Linked DNA regions of Homo sapiens: all the other regions are linked to region 1. Evidence: promoter capture Hi-C in 16 types of primary human blood cells and fetal thymus (Javierre and others, 2016). All regions are on one chromosome and are shown on one strand. Each heading gives the region's core, a stretch centred on a gene start or on the middle of the fragment in contact. The rest is flanking DNA. Distances are from core to core; before and after follow the strand shown.

Evidence for each region. The method cuts DNA at HindIII sites, captures the fragments that hold promoters and counts their contacts. A CHiCAGO score of 5 or more calls a contact.
Region 2: a fragment that was not itself captured here is called in contact with the fragment with the promoter of CDK7 in region 1 in 3 of 17 cell types (non-activated CD4 T cells, total CD4 T cells and activated CD4 T cells); the score reaches 10.5 in non-activated CD4 T cells.
Region 3: a contact is called between a fragment that was not itself captured here and the fragment with the promoter of CDK7 in region 1, in 2 of 17 cell types (fetal thymus and total CD4 T cells). The highest score is 8.4, in fetal thymus.
Region 4: a fragment that was not itself captured here is called in contact with the fragment with the promoter of CDK7 in region 1 in 1 of 17 cell types (total CD4 T cells); the score reaches 6.1 in total CD4 T cells.

What each region holds. Positions count from the first base shown.
Region 1 is chr5:69,230,851-69,237,535 of GRCh38, reverse strand. It overlaps CDK7 (cyclin dependent kinase 7), which reads right to left and starts at 2,650. Exons shown (of 12, transcript NM_001799.4): 1 at 2,495-2,650; 2 at 2,083-2,142. The coding sequence starts at 2,560. RefSeq lists enhancers at 188-688, 2,400-2,928. The HindIII fragment of the contact is 18,686 bases long and covers 1-3,221 here.
Region 2 is chr5:71,589,260-71,595,944 of GRCh38, reverse strand. It overlaps MCCC2 (methylcrotonyl-CoA carboxylase subunit 2), which reads right to left. Exons shown (of 17, transcript NM_022132.5): 2 at 2,953-3,019. Among named protein-coding and RNA genes, the nearest start is that of MCCC2, 5.3 kb to the right of the region's middle. The HindIII fragment of the contact is 540 bases long and covers 2,867-3,406 here.
Region 3 is chr5:71,482,978-71,489,662 of GRCh38, reverse strand. BDP1 (BDP1 general transcription factor IIIB subunit) reads right to left here. Exons shown (of 39, transcript NM_018429.3): 8 at 5,767-5,821; 9 at 3,036-3,179; 10 at 1-259. Among named protein-coding and RNA genes, the nearest start is that of BDP1, 31 kb to the right of the region's middle. RefSeq lists an enhancer at 5,967-6,261. The HindIII fragment of the contact is 7,674 bases long and covers 1-6,544 here.
Region 4 is chr5:71,462,966-71,469,650 of GRCh38, reverse strand. BDP1 (BDP1 general transcription factor IIIB subunit) reads right to left here. Exons shown (of 39, transcript NM_018429.3): 4 at 5,534-5,593; 5 at 3,430-3,555; 6 at 2,164-2,297. Among named protein-coding and RNA genes, the nearest start is that of BDP1, 11 kb to the right of the region's middle. The HindIII fragment of the contact is 5,073 bases long and covers 687-5,759 here.

The sequences.
Region 1 (6,685 bases), core at 1,401-3,900:
ACAGAAATATAGCAAAGCATAGGGAAGGAGGGAGGCATACATGTAGCTGGAATGAACAAAGGCCTCTATGGAGGAGACATTTGAGTGAAGCCTGGATGATAAGGAATCAGCCATGCCATGTTCTAGACGGAAAATATACCAACCAAGAAGCCAGACCAAATGCAATGATCCTGTGATTCTGGGACTGGAATAAATTTAATTTGTACAGGGACAGAAAAGTCAGTGTGGCTATGATATAGTGAACCAGAGACAGAATTAAAAAGATGACTAGGCCAGGCTTGGTGGCATGTGTCTATAGTCCCAGCTACCTTGGAGGCTGGGGTGGAAGGATTACTTTAGTCCAGGAGTTGGTGGCTGCAGTGAGCTATGGCTGTGCCACTGCACTCTAACCCTTCCACCTGGGCGACAGAGTGAGACCTCCTCCTGCCCCGCCACCACAAAAGAAAGAAAGATGAAGAAAGATTCAGTAGAGTTAAGGGTTTTAAAGGGAGTGGCTGTAGTGGTGGATCATAAAACATAAACCAGAAAACACGGACATAAAAAAAGTAAAAAAGTTAAAAAAAAAAAAAAAAAAAAAAAAAGAAGGCCAGGCACAGTGGCTCACACCTGTAATCCCAGCATTTTGGGAGGCCGAAGTGGGTGGATCAACTGAGGTCAGGAGTTCGAGACCAGCCTGGCCGACATGGCGAAACCCTGTCTCTACTAAAAATACAAATATTAGCTGGGCGTGGTGGCAGGTTCCTGTAGTCCCAGCTACTGGAGAGGCTGAGACAGGAGAAGTGCTTGAACCCGGGAGGCAGAGGTTCCAGTGAGCCGAAATCGCACAATTGCACTCCAGCCTGGGCAACAAGCAAAATTCTGTCTCAAAAAAAATAAAAAATAAAATAAAATAAAAAATAAAAAAATTATGGCAGGAATAATTGAGAAGAAGTAGTCAGTCAGGTTTTAAATGAATGCAAGACAGTACTTGGAGGCTGGAAGATGACCAAAAAAAGGGGGAATTAATGTTAAATATGGATAACTTCCAAGGAGTTAGGGTTTTTGAAGCAGGAGAAGCAGATTCAAAGTAGCAACGGTAACAAAAGCAACATCAGGACACCTGGATTTAAATCCCAGCTTCAGCAATCACTAGCTGTGTGATCTTGACAAGTCACCTAGTCACTCAGTCTCAGGTACCTCAAGTATAAAATAGGGTTACTTTTAACCACTTTATAGATTGTTTTGAAGGTTAAAAGAAACAATGTAGGTGAACGTGAGTTATGTAATTATGACCCAAATCTTTTTTTTTTTTTTTTTAAGATGGAGTCTCCCTCTGTCACCAGGCTGGAGCACAGTGGCACCATCTCGGCTCATTACAACCTCCACCTCCCAGGTTCAAGTGATTCTCCTGCCTCAGCCTCCCGAGTAGCTGGGATTACAGACAGGTGCCACCACACCCAGCTAATATTTGTATTTTTAGTAGAGACAGGGTTTCACCATGTTGGCCAGGATGGTCTGGATCTCTTGACCCCAAGTGATCCGCCCACCTCGGCCTCCCAAAGTGCTGGGATTACAGGCGTGAGCCACCGCGGCTGGCCCGACCCAAGTCTTTTGAATGAATATAAGAAGCTACTGAATCCGACCCAGGTCTTTTGAATGAATATAAGAAGCTACTGAACTCATTTTAGACCTCACATCAATGTTGTTCATGCTAGTGAAAGTCTTTCATGGTAAATCCGTACACAGAAAATACAGATACGACACACTGAGTGGATGCAGGTGAGGTATAAACAGTGACCTAGAAAGATCATGGTATCCAATAGTTCTGAGGACCGAAAAGATGGGCAGTACTTGCCCACAACATATGAATTTATGCAGTAAAAATAACATACAGCTTCTTCTTCATTTCAATAGAAATTAAAACGGGTTCAACCCTAGAGTTCCGTTTGGGAACACAAAGCACTAATTAATTATTTTGTCTCTGAAAATGACATGAGTAACTCATTATCAGAGTATGGTCAAGACTAATAAAATGGCTATCAGTCAATTAATAATACAGACATCTTCAAGGAGACTTAAAAACAACATAAAAAGGTAACTCACTTTCTTAATGGCGACAATTTGGTTGGTGTTCTTATCTCTGGCCTTGTAAACGGTGGCAAACTAGAAAGAAAAATAGAAATAACATAAGTTTATGGGAGTTTTTGTGTTTGCCTTTTTGCATTTTTACATTTCGCGAAGCAAAGAGCCCAGAGTTCCTGAGCAGACTCGCGGCGGCTGGAAACGTGGCGGGTCAGTCTCCGTCCAGCTCCAGGCTACTCTTCAGCAAGGAGAGGCCCCTCAGGGATTCACCCCCAGGATGTAAAGAATGGGCAGCAAGTGCGTCTGGACGGTTTCCCCCAACGAGAACGAGCAGCCAAGCCAGACCTCTGGCCTCCACGGGAAAACCCGCAAAGGTGGAGGCGGCGCGGGGCTGTCCGCTTGGGGCCCTCCCCGTCCTTCCAGAGAGCCTCACCTGTCCCTCCCCAAGGAAGTCCAGCTTCTCATAACGCTTTGCCCGAGACTTCACGTCCAGAGCCATCCGGCGCCGTAAAGCCCGACTCCAGCCGAAAAGGGCGAGCTCCCAGGACAACACGAATTTAAAGCTACCTTAAAGCCTCCAACACCCACTTCCGTCCACCGGGCTCCGTCGCTTTAGTATCCCCGCCTCACTTCCGTGGTGGGCGGAGGAAGCTGCGCTAGGCCCAGGCGGTTGGCGTTCCCCACCCGTCACGTGACGCCTGTCGGTGCCTGAAGTGGGGCATCTTCAATGGCTGCTGTGTCACTCTGTTGCCGTTTTAACTTGGGTGTTTTCTACATTACCAGGAACTGGTCAGCGTTCTAATTTGGTGTTCCATGTTCGGGGTTTGGTAGGTGTCTGTGAATGTAGAAAGTTTGGCCTTGTACCTGTTCTCGCTTTTTGGTTCTTGCTCGAGCGCGTCCTGTCGCCGTGGTTGCTATGGACGCCAAACCCTGCTATCTCAGATTACTGAGACGAGTGCCAAGTTCTTACGGGCTGGTCAAGAGTATTCTTAGTCCAGTCCCTTTATGAAGAAGCAGGCCCAGGAAAACAAAATCCAACTCAACTGAAACGTGCTGTGGGAATCAGCTTCTAGTCCTCAGTTTTCTACTCGGTAAAATGGAAAAAATAATGAACTACATCACAGGAGATTGTGGGTATTAAATGAAACATGCAGAAAGCTTAGACATTAACTCAATTAATTGAGACAGTGCTCAATTAACTTAGCAGTAATGAGTACCCAACCCCTTGATTATCATAAATTGTCATAACAAACACACTAATTCATTTATTCAAAAACATATTGAGTGCTTTTCCTTTTTCATTTTTCTCTCTCTTAGGATGCTGATATTGAGTGTTATCTATGTGCCAAGCACCATTGTAGAATCTGAGATAGCAGGGAGCAAAGATCCCTGCCTTCCAATGGGAGGAGATAAAAAAACAAGTCAAATATGTGTTATGATACATAGGTGATAAGTGCTATAGAGATAATAAAGCAGATAAAGGATAACAAATCAGGGCAGGGGCAGGGATGGAGGTTTTAAATAGGGTGGTACAAGAAAGTCATCACTGAAAACCCACTGGAGGGATTGGAGCAGACAAGTGATATGACCTGACTCACTTTTAAAAGGTTCACTCTTGCTGTTGGGAGACTATATTATAGATTTTGAGGGACAAGAAAAAGAAAGAAGGCCTATTAGAGAACTATTGCAGTAATCCAGATGGCTCTACTAGTGGATAATTAAAAGTTTCTGAGCCAGAGCAGCTGTCAACATGGAAATGTGCCCCCCTCCCCCTGCCTTTGTTTGTTTGTTTGTTTTTGAGACAGTCTCACTCTGTTGCTCAGGCTGGAGTACGCTGGCCCGATCTGAGCTCACTGCAACCTCTGCCTCCTGGGTTCAAGCGATTCTCCTGCCTCAGCTTCCCGATTAGCTGGGATTACTGGCCTGCTCCACCACACCCAGCTAATTTTTGTATTTTTAGTAGAGACGGGGTTTCACCTTGTTGGCCAGGCTGGTCTCAATCTCCTGACCTCAGGTGATCCACCCTCCTCGGCCTCCCAAAGTGCTGGTATTTGTAAGTGTAAGCCACTGCGCCCAGCCTATATTTGTTATTTCTAAGAGTTGAAAATCCTAAGTTTCAGAGATATGTTGAAGAAAGTAGCAAAATACCAAGGCCAATAATTTAGTTATTTTTTTTAACTCTGGAATCAGACTGCTTGCATTTGAATAGTGGCCCTATCAGTATTCAGCCACTAGATACAACTAGGGCAAATTACTTACTTTGTTTCCAGTTTCTTCATCCCTAATAGGATCTACTCAAAGGATTGTTCCAAGGCTTAAATGACCTCACACCTGCAAAGCCCTTAGAATAATGTTTGACAGTTAAGTGTTTACTATATGTTAGCCATTATCTTTCAGTCCCTTGTCATTACTTGGGTCTAGGCAAAACTCACACATTGCAGAAAAGACACCATCTCTCTTGAGGCAAGTCATACCTAGTGATGCTGTTGTCATAGTTTCTTCTGACAGGTATCATTGAAATAATAATTTAACCTCACTTGTAGAAATAAGCTAGTGAGCGGCAGGTGCAGTGGCTCACACCTGTAATCCAGCACTTTGGGATGCCGAGGCAGGTGGATCACCTTAAGTCAGGAGTTCCAAACCAGCCTGGCCAACATGGTGAAACCCCATCTCCACTAAAAATACAAAAATTAGTTGGGTGTGGTGGCAGGCACCTGTAATCCCAGCTACTAGGGAGGCTGAGGCAGAAGAATCACTTGAACCCGCGAGGCGGAGGTTGCAGTGAGCAGAGATAGCACCATTGGACTCCAGCCTGGGCAACAAGAGTGAAAACTCCGTCAAAAGAAAGAAAGAAGGGAAGAAAGGAAGAAAAGAGAGAGAGAGAAGCTAGTGAGCTAAATCTGATGATGCCGTTGTGAGACTTGAGGTCCCCAAGTGTGCCATGGCGTATGAGTTGATAATCAGTGTATTACAGCGTGCTGCTGACAAGTAAATTCCCATTCTGGGACATTTAAAATAGGATAATGAAGACAGCGTTTAGATGATATTCTGAGACAGTGAGATACTGTATATATAAAATATCATTTGAGCACTTTGAACCAAAAGAAAAAAAAAGAAAATAGCATTACACATTTGCAAAGCATTTTTCAGTTTAAAGCACTTCCATGCATCTGTATTAGCCAGCTTGTAAGATGGCCATGATGATCCTTGCCTTCCGGTATTAATCCTGTTGTGTGGTCTTCTCCCACAATGAAACAGGTTGTTCTGTGTGACCAATAGAATATGGCTGAAGTGTGATTTATGAGGCTAGAACATAAAAGGATGCTGTTGACTGGCATGCTTGGATTATTTGCTCTGGTGAAAGCCAGCCATGTCATGAATTCACTCAGGCAACCATGTGGAGAGAAACTAAGGCCTCTTGCCAACAGCCAGCATCGGCTTGTCAGCTCTGTGAGTGAGCCATCTTGGAGGTGAATCAGCCAGCCTCAGCCAAGCCTTCAGATGACTGTAGCCTCAGTGGCTTCTAATTGCAACCGCATTAGGCACTAAATCAAAACTGCCCAGTGAAGCTGCTTCTGAATTCCTGACCCAGAGAAACCAGAGAAATTAAGAGTTTAGCCACTTAATTTTGGGGTCATTTGTTACAAAGTAATAGATAATACACTAATTTGATCCTGACTATCCCACTGTGTAGTACTGGAAAGAAAAACGGAAACTTGGACAAATTAAGCAATTTGCTGATTACATATATTTAAGTGCCTAACCTCTAAATGAAAATACAGGCTATTTAACTGTAAGCCTCACCAGAAGTCTATAATACTCTCCTTGGGAGCTCATCCTGTGACAGCAATTCCCACTGGCGTACCTTTTGCCATACCTATACTCACAAATTCTGTAACAGTGACAGATTTTCTTCATTCTGACTTTCACGGCAGCAGCTGTAGTAAAGATTGCCCTCAGATATACATCCACAGTTCGGTATTAGGATTTCTAACTGTTGGCTCACAGTATTACTCATACCACTCTTCACTACCTGAATCCGAATGTATTTCTGAAAGCAAAATAATGGTCCTGGGCTTTTTTTTTTGAGACGGAGTTTTTCTCTTATTGTCCAGGCTGGAAAGGCTGGAGTGCAATGGTGCAATCTCAGCTCACCGCAACCTCTGGCTCCCAGGTTCAAGCAATTCTCCTGCCTCAGCCTCCTGAGTAGCTGGGATTACATGCGCCCGCCACCACGCCCAGCTGATTTTTTGTATTTTTAGTAGAGATGGGGTTTCACCATGTTGGCTAGGCTGGTCTTGAACTCCTGATCTCAGGTGATCTGCCCGCCTCGGCCTCCCAAAGTGCTGGGATTACAGACATAAGCCACCACACCCGGCCTGGCCCTGGGCTTTCTTTTGCTAAAGTAATTTTCCCAAATAATTGTTTTTTTTTTAGACAGAGTCTTGCTCTGTCGCCTAGGCTGGAGTGCAGTGGTGTGACCTCCACTCACTGCAACCTCCACTTCCTGGGTTCAAGCAATTCTCCTGCCTCAGCCTCCTGAGTAGCTGGGATTACAGGCGCCTGCCACCATGCCCAGCTAATTTTTGTATTTTTAGTAGAGATGGGGTTTCACCATGTTGGC
Region 2 (6,685 bases), core at 1,887-4,386, 2.4 Mb before region 1:
TACATGCTATGATAGATCTGGAAAATTCCTATCTTCATTTGTACCAGGTAAAAATAAAATTTTAGAAATTACTTCCATGATAAGTGCAGTAAATTTACCTAAAGATGACATTAGTGATCCGTAACTTTTTAGGCTTGCAACTGGGTGAGTTGAACACTTTAGCAATTTAAAAGTCCCCTTCCTTGACTCAGAGATTGTCTTCAGTGCTTCTCAACATTGCTCACATCATGACAGACAAAGAAAATTATAACTGAAGAGCCCACTGGAGTATTCTTGGGAATATCTATAACCCACTCTCGGCAAACCAAGGTAATGGAGCAAGAACAGAAGTATCAAATTGTACCTTTAATAATTAAAACATTAGTTTATTTTTATTGGTGTCCAAGAATTTCATCTTAATATAGTCTTTGTCTAATGAAATGTTCAGCTATTTCAGAAAGCTATTTCTTTGTTTATTTAGGCAAGAAAATAATCTCAAACGATCTTCCAAGTAGGACCTTTTTTTTTTTTTTTTTTGAGACAAGATCTTACTCTGTCACCCAGGCTGGAGTGCAGTGGTGCCAGCATGGCTCACTACAGCCTTGAACTCCTAAATTCAAGTGATCCTCTCACCTCAGGCTTCCCAGCAGCTGGGACTACAGGCATGTGCCACCACTCCAGCTAAATTTTTGTGATGAGGTCTCACTCTGTTGCCCAGGCTGGTTTCAAACACCTGGCTTCATGCAATTCTCCTGCCTTGACCTCCCAAAGTGACAGGTGGGTCATGCCTGTAATCCCAGCACTTTGGGAGGCTGAGGTGGGTGGATCACTTGAGGCCAGGAGTTTGAGACCAGCCTGGACAACATGGTGAAACCCCATCTCTACTAAAAATATGAAAAATTAGCTGGGTGTGGTGGTGCATGCCTGTAGTCCCAGCTATTCGGGAGGCTGAGGCGGGAGAATCGCTTGAACCCGGGGGGCCAAGGTTGTAGTGAACTGAGATCGCGCCACTACACCCCAGCCTGAGTGACAGAGCAAGACTCCGTCTCAGTAAAAAAAAAAAAAAAGAGAGAGACTTAAGACAACATCACTCTTTAGCAATTCTGTCTAGAGTGGGGCCTTACAATTTGGAGCAGCTGGTGAATTCTGGTTTTATTAGGAAGAACCAGAAAGAGGGTTATCCTTGATGCAGGCTCACAGAGCACATAATTAAGCTCCCCTGACATTTAATTCTTGGCAAAGCTGTGACAGCCAAGTTTGTCCTTTCCCCCTTCTCCCTACCTCCTTCCCCAGGGAGTCCGGCTCAGTCCTCTACCCTCCTGTGGCCACCAGCCTGCACCACGGTTCCTCAGCATCCACCATCCCCAGCAGGCACCTGATGCCACAGGACTCCTCAACCCTCCATTGAGTCAAACCCACCTCTTTTTTTTTTTTTTTTGAGACGGAATTTCGCTCTGTTACCCAGGCTAGAGTGCAATGGCACCATCTTGGCTCACTGCAACCTCCGCCTCCCAGGTTCAAACAATTCTCCTGCCTCAGCCTCCCGAGTAGGTGGGATTACAAGCATGCGCCACCACACCCAGCTAATTTTGTATTTTTAGTAGAGACAGGGTTTCACCATGTTGCTCAGTCTGGTCTCGAACTCCTGACTTCATGTGATCCGCCCACCTCGGCCTCCCAAAGTGCTGGGATTACAGGCGTGAGCCACTGTGCCTGGCCCCAAAACCCACCATCTTAATGTCTAAGGGGGACAGTGAGTTCACCAAATCAAACTCTCAAAATGGGCATAACAATTGAGTTATCACCCCTAACAAAACACTTTCATTTCAGCAAGAGTTTGAATTCTTTTTCTGGAGACAACACCTTGATCTAAAATGGCTTCAAAAGTATGAATTCCATAGCTGCGTACAGGGGCACAGGTACAGTCTCAGCTACTTGGGAGGCTGAGGCAAGAAGATCACTTGAGCTCCCGACTTCGAGTCCAGCCCGAGCAACAGAGTGAGGAGACCCTGTCTCTAAATAAACTAGTAAATAAGCAATTCTAGACCATACTTTCCAAATCCAGTCTTCTTCACTATTTTTATACTCCTGAGATCCAGTATTTAAACTACTCTAACCTAAATGTAAAATTTTACATTAAAAGTATTATATACAATTTTAAGTATTATATACTTGTTGATAAAAGTTATCTGAAACAGTCTATCAAATATGAAGAATGCTTTCCATCTGAGATTCAGCACTTAGGGAGGAAATATTAAATGCCTACTAAGAAATCACTGGCCAGGTGTGGTGGCTCATACCTGTAATCCCAGCACTTTGGGAGGCCAAGATGAGAGGATCGCTTGAGCCAGGGGTTCAGTCCAGCCTGGCAATAGAGCAAGAACCCATCTCTTAAAAAAAAAATTAATAAAAATTAAAAATAAATTATTTATTCATAAAATTTATGAATTTGAATCTTTACTTTTCCCCCCAAAAGTGGTAGTACTCTATGAAGAGAAAAACTGGCCAAGTAATAGGAAAAATAAAATTAAATGCCTGCATACCAACAAATGCATAGTCTTAAGAGTCAAAAGCTCAGCCAGGAGTAGTGGCTCACGCCTATAATTGCAGCACTTTGGGAGGCCAAGGCAGATGGATCACTTGACATCAGTAGTTCAAGACCAGCCTGGCCAACATGGTGAAACCTTGTCTCTATTTAAAAAATACAAAAATTAGACAGGCATGGAGGCAGGCACCTGTAATCCCAACAACTTGGGAGGCTGAGGCAGGAGAATGGCTTGAACCCAGGAGGCGGAGGTTGCAGTGAGCTGAGATGGCGCCACTGCACTCCAGCCTGGGCAAGAGAGCAAGACTCCATCTCAAAAAAAAAAAAAAAATATCAAAAGCTTAATTCCAGTATTTTTCCTAAAAGCAATAACTATTTTAGGACATCTTAAGTAAAGGCATAAGCTGTGGAATAAATGCTGTGTTTACCTAGTTTTATATGCTCCACTCGTTCATGGAGCTGATTTACTAGTGCTTTCATCTGCTTGTAGTTCTCCTAAAACAGAAATAGAGGAGACAGGGGAGAGAAATATTAGAAAGCAATTCCTTTTTACCAAAATAAAGGTCAAAAAAAAAAAAAAAACAGTGGTCTGTGCCAACTCTGTGTGGCCGCCACACTGGGCCACCCCATCTGTGGCAGCCACGCTGGGCCACTGGATCGTATGGAAAAGATTCACCCCTGCCTGTCTTGTTCAAGCTCTTCTTCACCACCCCACTTGTCCATCTCTCCATATCTTACTCCTCTGTAAGCCTAATTCATGTTTTATCTCATCTTCAACTCTACTTCTGGCCACTCCTACTCAATTTAACATCTTTCTTCCTTAAACACCTTCTGAACTTAAACTGATCTCTATTTGTTTTCCTATTTTAAGGAATATAAGCTTTTTGAAGGTTAGAATACCATCTTATTTTTCCTGTCCCATCAGTCACTATCTGAGATTCCAACCAATGCTTGCTTACTGACAAAGTACACTTAAAAACAAATCCCAGAGGGAGAAAAAGGATCTTATTTTTATTTTTAATTTTGTATTTTTATTTTTTGGGACAGAGTCTCCCTTTGTTGCCCCGGCTGGAGTGCAATGGTGCAATCTCGGCTCACTGCAACCTCCGCCTCCCGAGATCAAGCGATTCTCCTGCCTCAGCCTCCTAAGTAGCTGGGACTACAGGTGTGTGCCACCATGCCCAGCTAATTATTGTATTTTTAATAGAGACCGGGTTTCGCCATGTTGGCCAGGCTGATCTCAAACTCCTTACCTCAAGTGATTTGCCCATCTCGGCCTCCCAAAGTGCTGGGATTACAGGCATGAGCCACCGCACCTGGCCAAGGATCCTATTTTATGTTTTAAAAAGAACAGGCTGAGTGTGGTGGCTTATGTCTGTTATCCCAGAGCTTTGGAAGGCGGAGGCAGGAGCATCGCTTAAGCCCAGGAGTTTGAGACCAGCCTGAGTAACATAGGGAGACTTCCATCTTTACAAAAAGAATAAAAATAAAAAGAATAAAAATTTAAAAATTATCTGGGCATGGTGGTGTGTCCCAGCGACTTGACCAACTAAGGTGGAAGGATCTCTTGAGCCCAGGAGTTTGAAGCTGCAGTGAACTAGGATCGTGCCATTGTACTCCAGCCTGGGTGACAGAGCAAGACTGTTTCAAATAAATAAATAAATTAGTAAAAAGAACAAAACTCGGCCAGCCGTGGTGGCTCACGCCTGTAATCTCAGCACTTTGGGAGGCCGAGGCGGGCAGATCACCTACGGTCGGGAGTTCGAGACCAGCCTGACCAACATGGAGAAAACTCGTCTCTACTAAAAAATACAAAATTAGCCAGGCAAGGTGGTGCTTGCCTGTAATCCCAGCTACTCGGGAGGCTGAGGCAGGAGAATCCCTCGAACCCGGGAGGCGGAGGTTGCAGTGAGCCAAGATTGCATCATTGCACTCCAGCCTGGGCAACAAGAGCAAAACTCCATCTCAAAAAAAAAAAAAAAAAAACAGAACAAAACTCTATGCTGGCATATATACACAAATTAAGTAATACACAAGGAAATATTGACAGTGAGAAGTAGAAAAGAGGTAGAGGGACTAACTTTTCACCCTTCTGTATTTTTAAATTTTGTTTGGTCAGCATATTACTTTAGAACAATACTTAACTAGCTAATTATCTTTGAAATTCAGACTTGGCCCACTAATACATTTTGCTCCCCATGTGATTAGCATCTCTAGTTATTTAGTTCCTTCTGTTTGACAGAACACTAAGCAACTTCCTAACTGTTCAAACTTAGATGAATATTCAGTCTACAGTATATCTCCATTATTTCCTATTTTCTACAGCTCCAAGAGCTCTGAGGGTCATGATTTCTGCTACATTCTCTTGCTCTGCAAAATCCAGAAAATAAAAAACAAGGAAGCAGCATGGTATTAGGGAAAGAACCAGTTGGAGCTAACACAATATACAGAACTTGTCACCCTACAACAGCAGAAAAAAGTATGTAACTTTTCTCAAGTGCACAGGCAACATTCTCCAAGATAGACTACATGTCAGGCCACAAAACAAATCTTAATAAATTTTAAAAGACTGAAATCATACAAAGTATCCTTTTTTTTTTTTTTGAGACGGAGTCTGGCCGTGTCGCCCAGGCTGGAGTGCAGTAGCACAGTCTCAGCTCACTGCAACCTCCGCCTCCCGGGTTCAAGCGACTCTCCTGCCTCACACTCCCAAGTAGCTGGGATTACAGGCGTGCGCCACCATGCCCAGGTAATTTTTTTATTTTTAGTGGAGACAGGGTTTCACCATGTTGGCCAGGCTGGTCTAGAACTCCTGACCTCAGGTGATCCACCAGCCTCGGCCTCCCAAAGCGCTAGGATTACAGGCCTGAGCCACCATGCCTGGCCCAAAAGTATCCTTTCAATCACAATGGAATGAAACTAGAAATCAATGGCAGAAGGATGACTGGAAAATTCACAAATATATGGAAATTAAACAACGTACTTTTAAGCAACCAGTGGGTCAAAGAAGAAAAGCACTGACCCACTGAAGCTGACATTTGCCTCTACAGACTGGGCAACATCTGTGCCAAGCTCAGCCCATCAGACTTAAATCACAGAAGAGCCAGTACTGGCTACAGTTCACCTCCCAGGCAATCCTTTATCAACCAACCTAGCCTCCTTAGGATGAGACTCACTAACCAAGAGGCAGTGTAGTTTAGTGGCAAAACCAAGTTCAACTTTCAGTTTCCCTACTTACTGATACTGCATTTGGCAAATCTTGATCTCTCAGGACGCCAGGTGTTTGTGTTTGTGTGTGTGTGTGTGTGTGTTTTAATCACCTGCGAAACAACATTCTACAACCTAGTAATTTTCTTGTGAAGCTGAGCAACCACAGAGGTTAGTGCCTGACAGTCATAATGAATTGGAGCTGAGCCACTGACAAGTTTCCCACCCCATCTTTTCAACCATAGAACCCACCTAGGTAGAGCTGGGTGAGTGAGAAGCATTATAGAGCAACAGTTAAGACCCTGGACTCAAGAGTTATGAGCCAGACCACCTGGCTTCAAATTCAGGCTCTGTGTTATCTCAGACAAATTTCTTGGACCCTATATACCACAGTTTTCCCATCTATAAAACAGAAATAACAATTGTACCTACTGCACAGGATCATTATGATAAATACATGAGTAAAACCACATAAAGCCTTTAGAAAAATGGTGGGTACACTATAAAATTCCTGCCATTATTATTACTTATTATAGTTGCTTTTATTTGTAATCAGGAAACACAGCTAAACTGGATCATTCATCCCATTCTCCCCCACCCTCATGGACTTGCTTTGTCTAATGTGAGCACACATTAATTTCATCACATGCCAGCAAGGATTTTAAATCCAATTTGTGTTCAGCCTCTTGCTCCTGTGCCTTCGGCCATGAGAAGGGCATGTTTAATTCAGGGCTGCTCTTCAGCCTCAGTCCAGGAATGGGAAGACACATGGAGCAGACCTGAACCTACCCTGCAGTGGAACAGTCACAGCAGCAGCTAACCAAAGGCCACCAACACGAGTGAGAGATTAAGAAACAAAACAAAATCAAGTGAGAGACTAATATTTACTGTTGTGAGTTACTGAGATTTTTTGATTATTTGTTACACAAAGCGCAACCTAGCAAAAGGTGATTC
Region 3 (6,685 bases), core at 1,458-3,957, 2.3 Mb before region 1:
GAAGGACCCGCCTGAACAGTGGCATTTTCTAAAAGATTGTTTACTCCCAGTTCATTAGCTCCATCTTGCTTCTTCCTCCTTCTTTTCTTTTGATTTAGGTCTACTTCTAATGCAACCTGCTCTGCATCCTCCCTTGATAAGGTCAGAGACTCTTCTTCAACTGTCTGAGCATCCTTCTGAGATCTTTCCGTGTCTGAAATTCTAGAACTCATAGACTCATCTGGATCATTATTCACTCCTTCACAGGCAACTTTTTTCACTGAAAACAAGAGAAATTACTATAAATATTTAAACAACCTAAAGAAAAATTTGTAAAGGTGGGAAAGAGACTCAAAGATGTCCTCTGTATTATTTATTTGTATGAACAAAAAACCTAAAGACAACCTAAAATGTCTAATGGGAAATGACTAAATAATATATAAAAATCCACGGAGCCAATAATAATAATGAGGTAAGATTATATGTAGTCATGTGAAAAATTTCAAAGCATATTGTTGCATTTAAAAAACCAAGCAGAACAAGATACACATAAAATCTCATTTTTATTAAACAAAAACAGTTACATATAGAGATGCTCCTTGACTTACACTGGGTTTCATCCCAATAAACCCATCATAAGTTGAGTATACTGTAAATTGAAAATGCATTTAATACAGGCTGGGCATGGTGGCTCACACCTGTAATCCCAGCACTTTGGGAGGCTGAGGAGGGTGGATCATCTGAGGTCAGCAGTTCGAGACCAGCCTGGCCAACATGGTGAAACCCCATCTCTACCAAAAATACAGAAATTAGCTGGACATGGTGGCAGGCGCCTGTAATCCCAGCTGCTCGGGAGGCTGAGGCAGGAGAATCACTTGAACACGGGAGGCGGAGGTTGCAGTGAGCCAAGATCGCACCATTGCACTCCAGCCTGGGCAACAAGAGCAAAACTCTGGGCTGGGCATGGTGGCTCACGCCTGTAATCCTAGCACTTTGGGAGGCTGACACAGGCAGATCACTTGAGGTCAGGAGCTCAAGACCAGGCTGGCCAACATGGTGAAACCCCGTCTCTACTAAAAATACAAAAATTAGCTGGGTGTGGTGGTACTTGCCTGTAATCCCAGCTACTTGGGAAGCTGAGGCAGGAGAATCGCTTCAACTGGAGAGGTGGAGGCTGCAGTGAGCTGAGATGGCACCATGGCACTCCAGCCTGGGCAACAAGAGCAAAACTCCGTCTCAAAAAAAAAAAAAAGTTCTGGCTGGGCGTGGTGGCTCACACCTGCAATCCCAGTACTTTGGGAGGCCAAGGTGGGCGATCATTTGAGGTCAGGGGTTTAAGACCAGTCTGGCCAATATGATAAAATCCCATCTCTACAAAAAAATTACAAAAATTAGCTGGGCATGGTGGCACATGCCTGTAATTCCAGCTACTCAGGAGGCTGAGGTGAAAGAACTGCTTGAACTCGAGCAGTGAAGGATTCAGTGAGCCGAGATCAGGCCACTGCACTCCAGCCTGGGCAACAAAGTGAGACCCTGTCTCAAAAAAAAAGTTCTTACATTAAGTAAGATACAGTGAGTTACTCATGTTATCACCTGTAACATACAAGAAGATACATAATCTTCTACGATTATGTGTAAGTAAAAAAAAAAGACTACTAAGAATAAAGGTATTTTGTAGTTATCAATACTACTTTTTAAAAGATATGCCCCAGAAGAAGAAATTCTAGCCTAGCTTTGAACAGTAAAGAGTTAATTTTGCAGGCTTGACTGCTATCCTTTGAAAATCCTTCTTATAAGGTTGGCCCTTGGGCCATGTCTCAGAATTTGGTTCTGGGAAGGGTTCCTACCACCCTAACTGATAAGAGTGGCTCACTGTGCCTTAGCTGTACAATGTGGTTTATGCTGAACTGCTTTTCTTTTGAAAATCCGAAATTTTTGTATGTTCCAGGCAGAGGATGCTGAATCCTTAGTCTTCCTAGTGGATAATCGAACCCCGGTGGTGGTCGTGGGGACCCCCAACACAGGCTCTCACCATCCCAGGTTTCAGTTCTGCCTCTGCCACTACACACACTGTGAGTCCTTAGGAAAAAGTGTCTTACGATCTCTGGGGCTGTTTCTTGGTGATTAAAACCAATACAAAGGGCCGGGCACGGTGGCTCACGCCTGTAATCCCAGCACTTTGGGAGGCCGAGGCAGGCATATCATGAGGTCAAGAGATCAAGACCATCCTGGCTAACATGGTGAAACCCCGTCTCTACTAAAAATACAAAAAAAATTAGCCGGGTGTGGTGACGGGCACCTGTAATCCCAGCTACTCGGGAGGCTGAGGCAGGAGAATGGCGTGAACCCGGAAGGCGGAGCTTGCAGTGAGTCGAGATCGTGCCACTGCACTCCAGCCTGGGCAACAGAGCGAAACTCTGTCTCAAAAAAAACAGAAAAAAAGAAAAAAACAACACAAAGGGGGCTAAAATGTAAGCTAGCTAACATATAAGGTTCCCTATAGTTCCGAGCGTCTTCTTTATGTGATTATAGCTAAACATTGTCCTTATAGACCAGAGTTCAAATAGTTAAGAAAACATAAGCCTAAAAATAAAAATACCTACATATATACAATTTCTACCTGTTACAACTCAACATTAGCCTTCAGAAATAAGTTACGCTCAACCAATACAGTCTAGTCACAACCCCAGAAGATTAGAGTTCCTTTTTTTAATCCTAGAATTTTATACCAGATTTGTTTTACAGAGGAAAATGATAATAAATAATCAAACATGAAATACAACACTCCAAATTCTGATGCTCTTTGACTGGCTACAACTATCCTCTATGCTAGAGAGATATCAAATAACCCAATCACGCCAGTTAAAAATTTTAAAAGAAAGCTATTGTTTTGGACCAGATAACTAGTTGATTGAAAAAACATATACTCCCTCCAACTGGATGCTTTGATGATCTTAACTACCTGAGCTACACATGAACTCTCAAAGGCCTGAGGGACAATATTGCAAGTTTATTACTACTAAGTAAACTATCACACTTCCTTTTAAAATCAATACCTTTTACATTTTTCCGTGGTTTGGTGGATTTCTTCTCCTTTAAACTGTGATTTTTAACAGATTTTTGTTTTCTTTTCTCTTCTTCAGCAAGAACTTTCTGAAGCAAATGAGCAAAAAAATCGAAGTCAAAAGGGCGCTTTTCCTCTGTTTAAAGAAAAGGAAAAGAACTTTCAAGTTTTTATTTTTAAAAGCTACTTCTAGCTTTTAAAGTATCATAACATCAAAAGCAAATGGGTTTGTTTATCAGTAGGAGAACAGAAAAACAAATACACAACAGAACACCACTCAGCAACAGAATAGGTTGGTCTTAGCAGGGAAATAGATTAGTTCACATCAGAACACCACTCAGCAACGAAACAAATAAACTAGTTTATTACAAATAATAATTTATTACAAATTTGTAATAATTTGTTTATTGCAAATAAACTAGTTTTAAACAAAACAAAAGGAACAAACTACTGATACATGCAATAATATGAGGGAATCTCAAAAACATACTGAGTGGAAGAAAACAGATACTAGGGTACATACTATATGATACCATGTATAAGATATTCTAGAACACACTAAGCTATCTATGGTGATTAAAATGAAAATAGTGGTTGCCTTGGGCCAGGAGGACAGCATTTGATTGTTCAGAAAGGGACATAATAGACCTTGTGAAGTGATGAAAACATTTCCTCTATTGTTTGGGGTAGTGATTACACAGGCATATTCTTTGTCAAAACTTGAACTACACTTTGAGCTGTGTATAAATATAAATCAATTTTTTTATGGACTGAGAAGTCCTTGAAATGCCTGTTCACCACCATATGCCCTACCTTTATCACAACCATTTCACCATTTACTCTTATAAGTATCAGCAAAGTGGGAAGTAAATGAATTTAATCAGGAACATGCCCACTAAATACCTATCAACAGCATTATATCTGAAAGTAATCAGTGAACACTCCAGGAATGAATCCAGACCAGGAGGCAAATCCTTGCTTGAACTTAAAGTCAATGTAGAGAAAATGGTGCTCTATGCACATAAGCCAAAGACTGGTTTGATTACAAGATAGCCTCAGAAAAGAAGGTATATACTAAAATAAAAAGAATCTCTGGAAACTAAACCCAAATCTGGGATTCCTGAAGACCCTATTTCACTGTTGACCCAGACTTCATTTGTTCTGACTCTCCACAATGATTCTGAAAGACATAGCACTCAAAGAATCATAAAGGATCTCCACATGGTTCTCAGAGAAATTCAAAACATAAGTTCTCTCAAAAAACTTATATAGGTTTTAATTTAAAAAAAAAATTTCCAATAGAAAGCCTCCAAATCAATGAGTTGTTTCTAGTTTTGAGATAGGATCTTGCTGTGTTGCCCAGGCTGGCCTCGAATTCTTCGGCTGAAAAGATCCTCCTGCCTCAGCGACTCCTGAGAGTAGCTGGGCCTATAGGCATACAACACTGTATCCTGTTTAAGATCAATAAATTTTAAAAATATCTATTATAATAGTCTATAAAAATGCTTCACAATCCAAATAGACTGTTTATAGATTTACGAATTATTTTCTGACTATAATGTGTTACACTTAATGAAGTTTCAGGACCACTTCTCTAATATGGAATGGGCTGAGGAGCACAATATTCCAGATCTTCTAAGAGCCATTCCTCAAAGCAGTTTCCCTAAAGACCCGATAAAACACTGGGTGTAGGATCCACCCACCTACCTTAGTGTCTACTCATAAAATAAATATACATGCTACATAATGTAGGTACTCTCTACATTTGGATTTTTTTTTTCTAAAATTAGCACTATGGCTAATCTTACGACTAAATGGACATTGAATACATTTATTAATCATAAAATACTGATAATTGTAAATCCACAAAAAATATATTCCTGTCCACAGCTGTGGTGAAAAAAAGACCTATCTTGTAATCAAAAAATACAAGAACTATTTTTAACAGTAAATGTATTTTTCTTTATAGATCCTTTGATATCTTTCTCTAGACTTGAAGAAAAATATGTTAATTTTAATGAGGATTTTAGTTAGAAATTGCAAGATATCTATCATTCCTTCAGATGAGATCTAAATTCAAATGCTAGTGTATCTCTTCAGACAGAACTTCCCTAATGATCCAATGATCATTAGGAAAAAAGAGACCTAAACATCCACCCTCTCTTTTTTCTTCTTTTTGGAAATGAATCACTACCTAAAATTATGCTTATCAACTATATTTCTTCCGCCATCCAATCAGACTTAAGGTTCTAAATGCAGGATTCTCATCTGCCATTTATCTTCCACCATTACATGCTCAATACCTAGAACAATGACTACCATATAGTAGGTGGTCAGTGTTATTGACTGAATGACTGATTAGTCATTCAGAACCAGAAAGAACCATCTATATAACTAATAGTACTGTCTTCCAGAAACAATGATCTCCTCCCATACAGTTCCTTCAGAATAAATAACACTTAGAAGTGGTAGCATCAATCCCTCCATAACTTCTTGGACTTAGAACTGTTTACCTGCACCTAGATGTTCTGGATAATCTCCTGCCAATATATTTGTAGCAAGTGCCAGACCCATACTGCTAAACAGAAAAATTTCAGACTGCTTCCTCTTAATGCCAATACAGGAACAAAACAAATCTAAAACACACTAAAGCCAAAGACAAAAGACTGGTCATTTTTTAGGCTCTTCAAGTAATACTTTGTAAAAGAGGTCTTAATACTTACGGAATGCTTTGTCTATTCTCCATCCATTTGTTTTCTCTTCCCGTTTAAATTTATTCTGTTAACAACAAAAAACCCTATGGTAATTTTCTCTCATAAAACAAGCATTTTTTTTTAAATGCAGTAAGCATTAAAATGAAACTCTTAGGAATAACATACTGCTCTCTACTTAATATGTCTTTGCCAATAGGCAAGTTACTTAAACCTTCGGCTTTTTAAAAATAAGGATGAAAGATTTTTACTGAGCTTCTTGATTCTCATTACCAATAGCATGAATCAGCAATGGAAGCTGGATTTACAGAGGACAGAAAAAAATAAAGTCAACAAACATGAAAGCAGATCAAACCTATGACTAAGCTCACTGGTATTAACTTTTAAAAAATTAAGTATTCGTAACAGGTTAAACCTCTGACATCATTGTTCTAATATATTTCAAGTAGCATGGAGAGAAGACTATAGAGAAACAACTAAGTGAAATTTTGAAGCAGGCCAAGTTTATCCTGACAAACTTCTATATATTAAGGCACATTTCCTCACATTTTTCTCAGCCCCAAAAATCCCTGTCCTCAGTTTACTACCAGATTACTTCCATTAAGAGGGAGATGTTTAAGGCTTAAGGCTCAATCCATCCTAAAGTCATTAGGAAGACTGAGGGCATAAGTTTGTGTCTGAAGACGTCTGATCACGCAAACACATCGTAGGAGAGGAAACAAACAGCCAATGTTTCCCATCTACACGTCAGTGATCTACAAGTTTTTATTAAAAGCACAAAAATAAAGCTTTTTAATTGCAAAAAAGAGAGAGAGAATATCACATAAAACAAAGGAAGTACTTCATGCCCCCTTCCTCCCTTCAAAAGAACTTAACCACTAATATGACTTGTAAAGCAATCACTTTCTTGTATTTCCTTATTGTTTATGAC
Region 4 (6,685 bases), core at 1,974-4,473, 2.2 Mb before region 1:
AAGAGCGAGACTCCACCTCAAAAAAAAAGAAAAAGAAATCATACAAAAGCATCTGGAATTTTTTTTTTAAAACATTCATTCTGCCTAGCTGATCTTATTCAAAGTGCTCTGAAGAAAGCTATGAGTCATACTCAGGATAGGGTTACACTACATAGGCAACTAAGATGTGCTAAGTAGTATATAAAGAAAGTAGCTAGAAAAATACACAAGAGGCCACGCACGGTGGCTCACGCTTGTAAATACCAGCACTTTGGGAGGCCGAGGCGGGCAGATCACTTGAGGTCAGGAGTTCCAGACCATCCTGGCCAACATGGTGAAACCCCGTCTCTACTAAAAACACAAAAATTAGCTGGGCATGGTGACATATGCCTGTAATCCCAGCTACTCGGGAGACTGAGGAAGGAGAATCACCTGAACCTAGGAGGTGGCGGCTGCAGTGAGCCAAGATCGCACCACTGCACTCCAGCCTGGGTGACAGAGTGAGACTCGGTCTCAAAAAAAGAAACTACTAACAGAAGTTACACTTCAGGAGAATAGGAATAGGGAAGTGAAAGAAGGGAAGTATAGAATCTTTTTACTCTATATCCTGCTGTTTGAATTTTTCCTCAAAACTACTGTTTTTAAAATAAAAACAATAAGCACCAACATGCAACAGATTTTTAACAGCATATTTATCTATAGAAGCTTTATTATACAATATTATCTGAGGTAGAACATTATTCGCATTAGAAATATTGTATTGTTGGCTGGGCACAGTGGCTCACGCGTGTAATCCCAGCACTTTGGGAGGCTGAGGCAGGCGGATCACCTGAGGTCAGGAGTTCGAGACCAGCCTGGCCAACATGGTGAAACCCCATCTCTACCAAAAACACAAAAATTAGCTGGGCATGGTGGCAGGCGCCTGTAATCCCAGCTGCTCGGGAGGCTGAGGCAGGAGAATCGCTTGAACCCAGGAAGCAGAGGTTGCAGTGAGCCGAGATCGCGCCACCGCACTCCAGCCTAGGCGACAAGAGCGAAACTCCATCTCAAAAAAAAAAAAAAAAGGAAATATTGTATTGTTAATTTTTATTTAAATGGTATTTACTGTAGAGATTTGACAGAGAGGAACATTCCAGCCAAAACGACTATAAAGGTAATTCTTAAAAAATATTTCTTTCAGCAGAACAGTGACTGAAAGAAATTAAAAAAAAAAAAAAATTTCTGGGCTGGGCACAACGACTCACGCCTATAATCTCAACACTTCGGGAGGCAAAGGATCGCTTGAGCCTAGGCATTGGAGACCAGCCTGGGCAACATACTGAGACCTTATTTCTTCAAAAAATCCAAAACACAGGCCAGGTGCGGTGGCTCATGCCTGTAATCCCAGCACTTTGGGAGGCCAAGGTGAGCAGACCACCTGAGGTCAGGAGTTTGAGAGCAGCCTGGCCAACATGATAAAACCCCATCTCTACTAAAAATACAAAAATTAGCTGGGGGTGGTGGCAGATGCCTGTAATCCCAGCTACTTGGGAAGCTGAGGCAGGAGAATCGCTTGAACCCAGGAGGCAGAGGTTGCAGTGAGCCGAGATCGTGCCATTGTACTTCAGCCTGGGCAACAAGAGGGAAACTCCGTCTCAAAAAATAAAAAAATTTTTTTCAAAAAATTAGCTGGGTTTGGTGGCACACGCCTGTAGTGCCAGCTACTCTGGGAGGCTGAGGCAGGAAGATCACATGAGCCCAAGAGTTCAAGGCTGCAGTAAGCTAAGATAGTTTCACTGCACTCCAGCCTCGGCAATCAATCAAGACCCTATCTCTACTTTCTAATTTTTTTTCTTAATTTTTTTGTAGAGATGAGGTCTTGCTTTGTTGCCCAAGTTGGTCTCAAACTCCTGGCCTCAAGTGATCCTCCTGCCTCAACCTCCCAAAGTGCAGGGATTACAGGTGTAAGCCACTGCACCTGGCTGAGACCCAGTTGCTATAAAAAATAAAATTTTTTTGAAGATTTGTAAGACAAAGTCAGAGATACCATTCCATGGAGGGCATAAGATAGAGGTGTCAATAAAATTAGCTGGAATAAAATGGTAGTTTGCATTTTATGTACTTAGGGGAGAACTGATTTAATTCAGAAACAGTCAATTCATTTCAAATAGAGAACTTACACATTTTTAAATGAAAATTAGTTACCTTTATTTGACCATGGTTTAGAGTAATAGTTTTTCCTAAAGCTGGAGTATGTAGTTGTAGAACCGCGCTCAAATATGGGGTCATTTTCTTCAACAACACAAGGGCCTTTTGTTCTTAAAACTTCTACAGTTAAACTGAAATAAACACATTTTTAAATAGATGTATACTAAAAACAAGGAAACAAATAGCAAATGAGATGTAAATAGTTATATTTTGAGGTTTAGCATGGCAATCATATCAAAGGCATAATAATACCTATGTGAAATATGGGTATTTTCCAAGCATCTGCTAAGTTTTACCTACAATGTGATTCCAAGAGGGTAGAAAGAAATGTCAACTCATTTTCAAAATCCATAACAGCAATATAATATTTACAAAACATCTTTGGGCTACGTATTATAAAACGGTATTTGTATTATTGACTTGCACATGTCTTTGATATTCAATATGTATTACTGTGCTGGACTCCATGGAAATTTTGAAAAACACAAGCACTTTATATTTTACATTCCTGCAGAGAAAGCAGTTAAATATGCTCTAACTATTTAATGACCAGTAAAATCATCATCACAAACTAATGGAAAATAGCACACAAAAACAACTATTATTAGCAGTATTACATTTATGTTTAATTATAGAATGTGAATGCTATAAAATTATTTTTCACTGGCTAAACTTTCAAAGACCTTCCATTGCTTTATTTATTTACTTACTAATTTATCATCTTTTAAAAAAAAACCCTTAAGACAACTAAATTCCACAATGCCCAATGTGCAAAATTTAATGTTATAACTGAGAAATTAAACCAAAAGATGAATTATACCTCACCATAACAAAAATCATAAAATATGTTAAACCTACATTTCATTGTATATCCATTAGTTATCACCACACACCAGGATATGCTCTTAATAATATGAGAACTTGAATATTGACTTCAAGACTGTGTCAATCTTAGAAATTTATCCTCAGTGGAAGACAGCATATGATTAGTTCAACAGCCTGACTCAATGACCAGTAAAGATAATAAAACAATGGTGTTAGGTTAATAGATGATAGGGCATCTTCTCATACAAAATAGTTATAAAAATTACTAAAATTTACAAATTAATCTAACCCACTTTTCTATTTACAATATTCATTATGCAAATAAGAACGTCAAGGTCTAAGTGACAAAGGCCAATACAGAAAGAGGACCTCTTTCACTAGACAAAGCATGTTTGTTCTCATGTAACCACAATCTCACTTTTTCTCTTTTCTAAATACCTTTCTTCATCCAAAATAATGGAACCATCTTCTGCCACTTTTACTCGAGGAACCAGTAATGGCCCATCATCTGTCTCTTCTTCCATTTCATTATCTTCAGCATTAGGAGTACTCTTACCTTCTTGCCTACCACATATAAAGATAAGTTAATTCACAAAGGCATGAAAAGTGTGCCTAAATAGTATAAAACTTAAAATAAATGATTACAAACTCAACCTTCTAGCTATTTCCAACTTTCCCTATAATCCAAATGAAAACAGTATGTGTTATTAAGGACGCAATTAGAGGATTTTCTCAAGTTTTATCTCGAGACATTTAGTAAGAAGTCTTATTTTTTTTTTTAGATGGAGTTTCGCCCTGTCACCCAGGCTGGAGTGCAGTGGCATGATCTCGACTTACTGCAACCTCCGCCTCCTGGGTTCACACCATTCTACTGCCTCAGCCTCCCCAGTAGCTGGGATTACAGGCGCGCACCTCCACACCTAGCTAATTTTTGTATTTTTAGTAGAGACGGGTTTTCACGATGTTGGCCAGGCTGGTCTCAAACTCCTGACCTCGTGATCCACCCGCCTCAGCCTCCCAAAGTGCCGGGATTACAGGCGTGAGCCACCGTGCCTGGCCCAAGCAGTCTTTACTCTCTTTTAAAATAAAGAGAAACAGACAGGACATGGTGGTTCAGGCCTGTAATCCTAGCAATTTCAGAGGCCAAGGCAGGAAAATCACTCGAGGCCAGGAGTTGAGATCAGCCTGGGCAACATAGCAAGACCTTACCACTACAAAAAAAATTTAAAAATTAGCCCAGCATGGTGATGCGTGCCTATAGTCCCAGCTACTCAGGAGACTGAGGCAGGAGTATCTCTTGAGGCCAAGAGTTTAATCACACCACTGCACCCCAGCCTAGGTGACAGTGCAAGACCCTATCTGTAAAAATAATAATAATAATAATAATGCTTATAGTTATATAGCATTAGTTTCTAGATTATTTGATTAACTTTTCAGTACAATCCTTCAGGGTTAGTATTTTCATGCTCATTTGAGCCTTAAGGAAAATGGCCAAATGCAGCAGCTCATGCCTGTAATCCTAGTACTTTTGGAGGCTGAGGCGAGAGGATTACTTGAGCTTAGAAGTTCAAGACCACCAGCCTGGGCGACATAGTGAAACCTTATCTCTATGAAAAAAAACTCTTCAAAAACTAAAAACTTTAGGCTGGGCATGGTGGCTTACACCTGTAATCCCAGCACTTTGGGAGGCCGAGGCGGGCCGATCACGAGGTCAAGAGATGGAGACCATCCTGACCAACGTGGTAAAACCCCGTCTCTACTAAAAATACAAAAATTAGCTGGGCATGGTGGCGCACACCCGTAGTCCCAGCTGCTCGGGAGGCTGAGGCAGCAGAATCGCTTGAACCCGGGAGGCAGAGGCTGCAGTGAGCCGAGATCGCACCACTGCACTCCCGCCTGGTGACAGAGCAAGACTCCATCTCAAAAAAAAAAAAAAAAAAAAAACTAAAAAATTTAGCCAACCGTGGTGGCACACACCTGTACTCCCAGCTACTCAGGAGGCTGAGGCAGGAGGATCACGAGCCCAGGAGGTCAAGGCTGCAGTGAGCTATGTTCACACCACTGCACTCCAGCCTAGGTGACACAGCAACATCCTGTCTCAAAAATTAAATTAAAATTTTAAAATTACAAAAACAATAGCCCAACCAAATGTAATTTTTTTTTAAGAGACAAAGTCTTGCTCTGTCACCCAGGCTGGAATGCAGTGGCGTGATCATAGTTCACTACAGCCTTGAACATGTGGGCTCGAGCGATCCTCCCACCTCAGCCTCCTGAATAACTAGGACTACATGTACACACCACCATGCACAGCTTATTTTTACATTTTTTGTAGAGACAAAATGTCACTATGATGCCCAGGCTGGTCTCAACTCCTGGCTTCTGGCAATCCTCCCATCTTGGCTTCGCAAAGTGCTGAGATTACAGGAGTGAACCACTGTGCCCAACCCCAATCAAATGTAATTCAACTATAACAGGAAGCACCATTTGATCTCATTTCTTAAAAAATGTAGGAATAGAATATATTCAAAAATAAAATACTTACTCTCTTGTCTGGACTGGAGTCGATGGCTTTTCAGTTTTCTTTTCTTGTTCCAGTGAAGAACTATTGAACATAAATAACAATATCTTTAATAAATTATTAATTTATATCTTCCCAATTCTATCTGTAGGCAAGAAGAAAATTATTCTAACTTCTAATTTTTAATGATATATCACAGCATTTCGTTAATGACAGTACAATCCAACAATCAACTTTTCAGTCAAAAGCTTGTCATCACATACAAATAATTTGTTAGGTCCTAAGTAAAGAATACTTTTTTTTTTTTTTTTTAATACAACAACAGGGTCTTGCTGTGTCAGACTGAAGTGCAGTGCTGTGATCTCAGCTCCATGTAACCTCTACTTCTTGAGCTCAAGCAATCCTCCCACCTCAGCCTCCCACGTAGCTGGGACTACAGGTGCATGCCACCACACCAGGCTAATTTTTGTCTTTTAATTTTTTGTAGAGACGAGGTCTCACCATATCGCCCAGGCTGGTCTCAAACTCCTGGGATCATGCAATCCTCCCACCTTAGCTTCCCAAAACACTGAGATTACAGGCATGAGCCACCACGCCCAACAGAGAATGTTCTTATCCTCTAACTTCTCAGTGAAAGGAGGCTCCCAATCCCAAGGCATGAAGCAGCTTACTTAGGTGACTTGTCTCCAACTCCTGGATGTTAAACAACTCAAAACCTAGGTTTCTGGCCCTTTCTTCAACAGGGCCAAAGACCTGGTGAATCTGAAAAAGGGCTATGCTGAGGAACTGTCCCAACTCCTACCTCTACCTGCTAAACCATCAACAATACAACAATGAGATTTATTATAAACCTGCCTCAGAAACCCCAGGCTAACTTTAATAAAGAAGCTTTGTTCTTGGAGGATTTATTAATCACACTACTACTGTCTTTATTAGAAGGCAGGGCATAAAACTTGGATCACTCCTTTAGATCAGTTTATAGTATGTTAAAAATAGAAATTCCAATCCTTTCAAACATTTTTTTTTTAAATGAGACAGAGTCTCGCTGTCTCCCAGGCTGGAGTGCAGTGGTGCAATCTTGGCTCACTGCTGCCTTGAACTCCCAGGCTCAAGTGATCCTCCCACCTCAGCCTCCTGTGCGCCACAATGCCCAGGTAATTTTTGTATTTTTTGTAG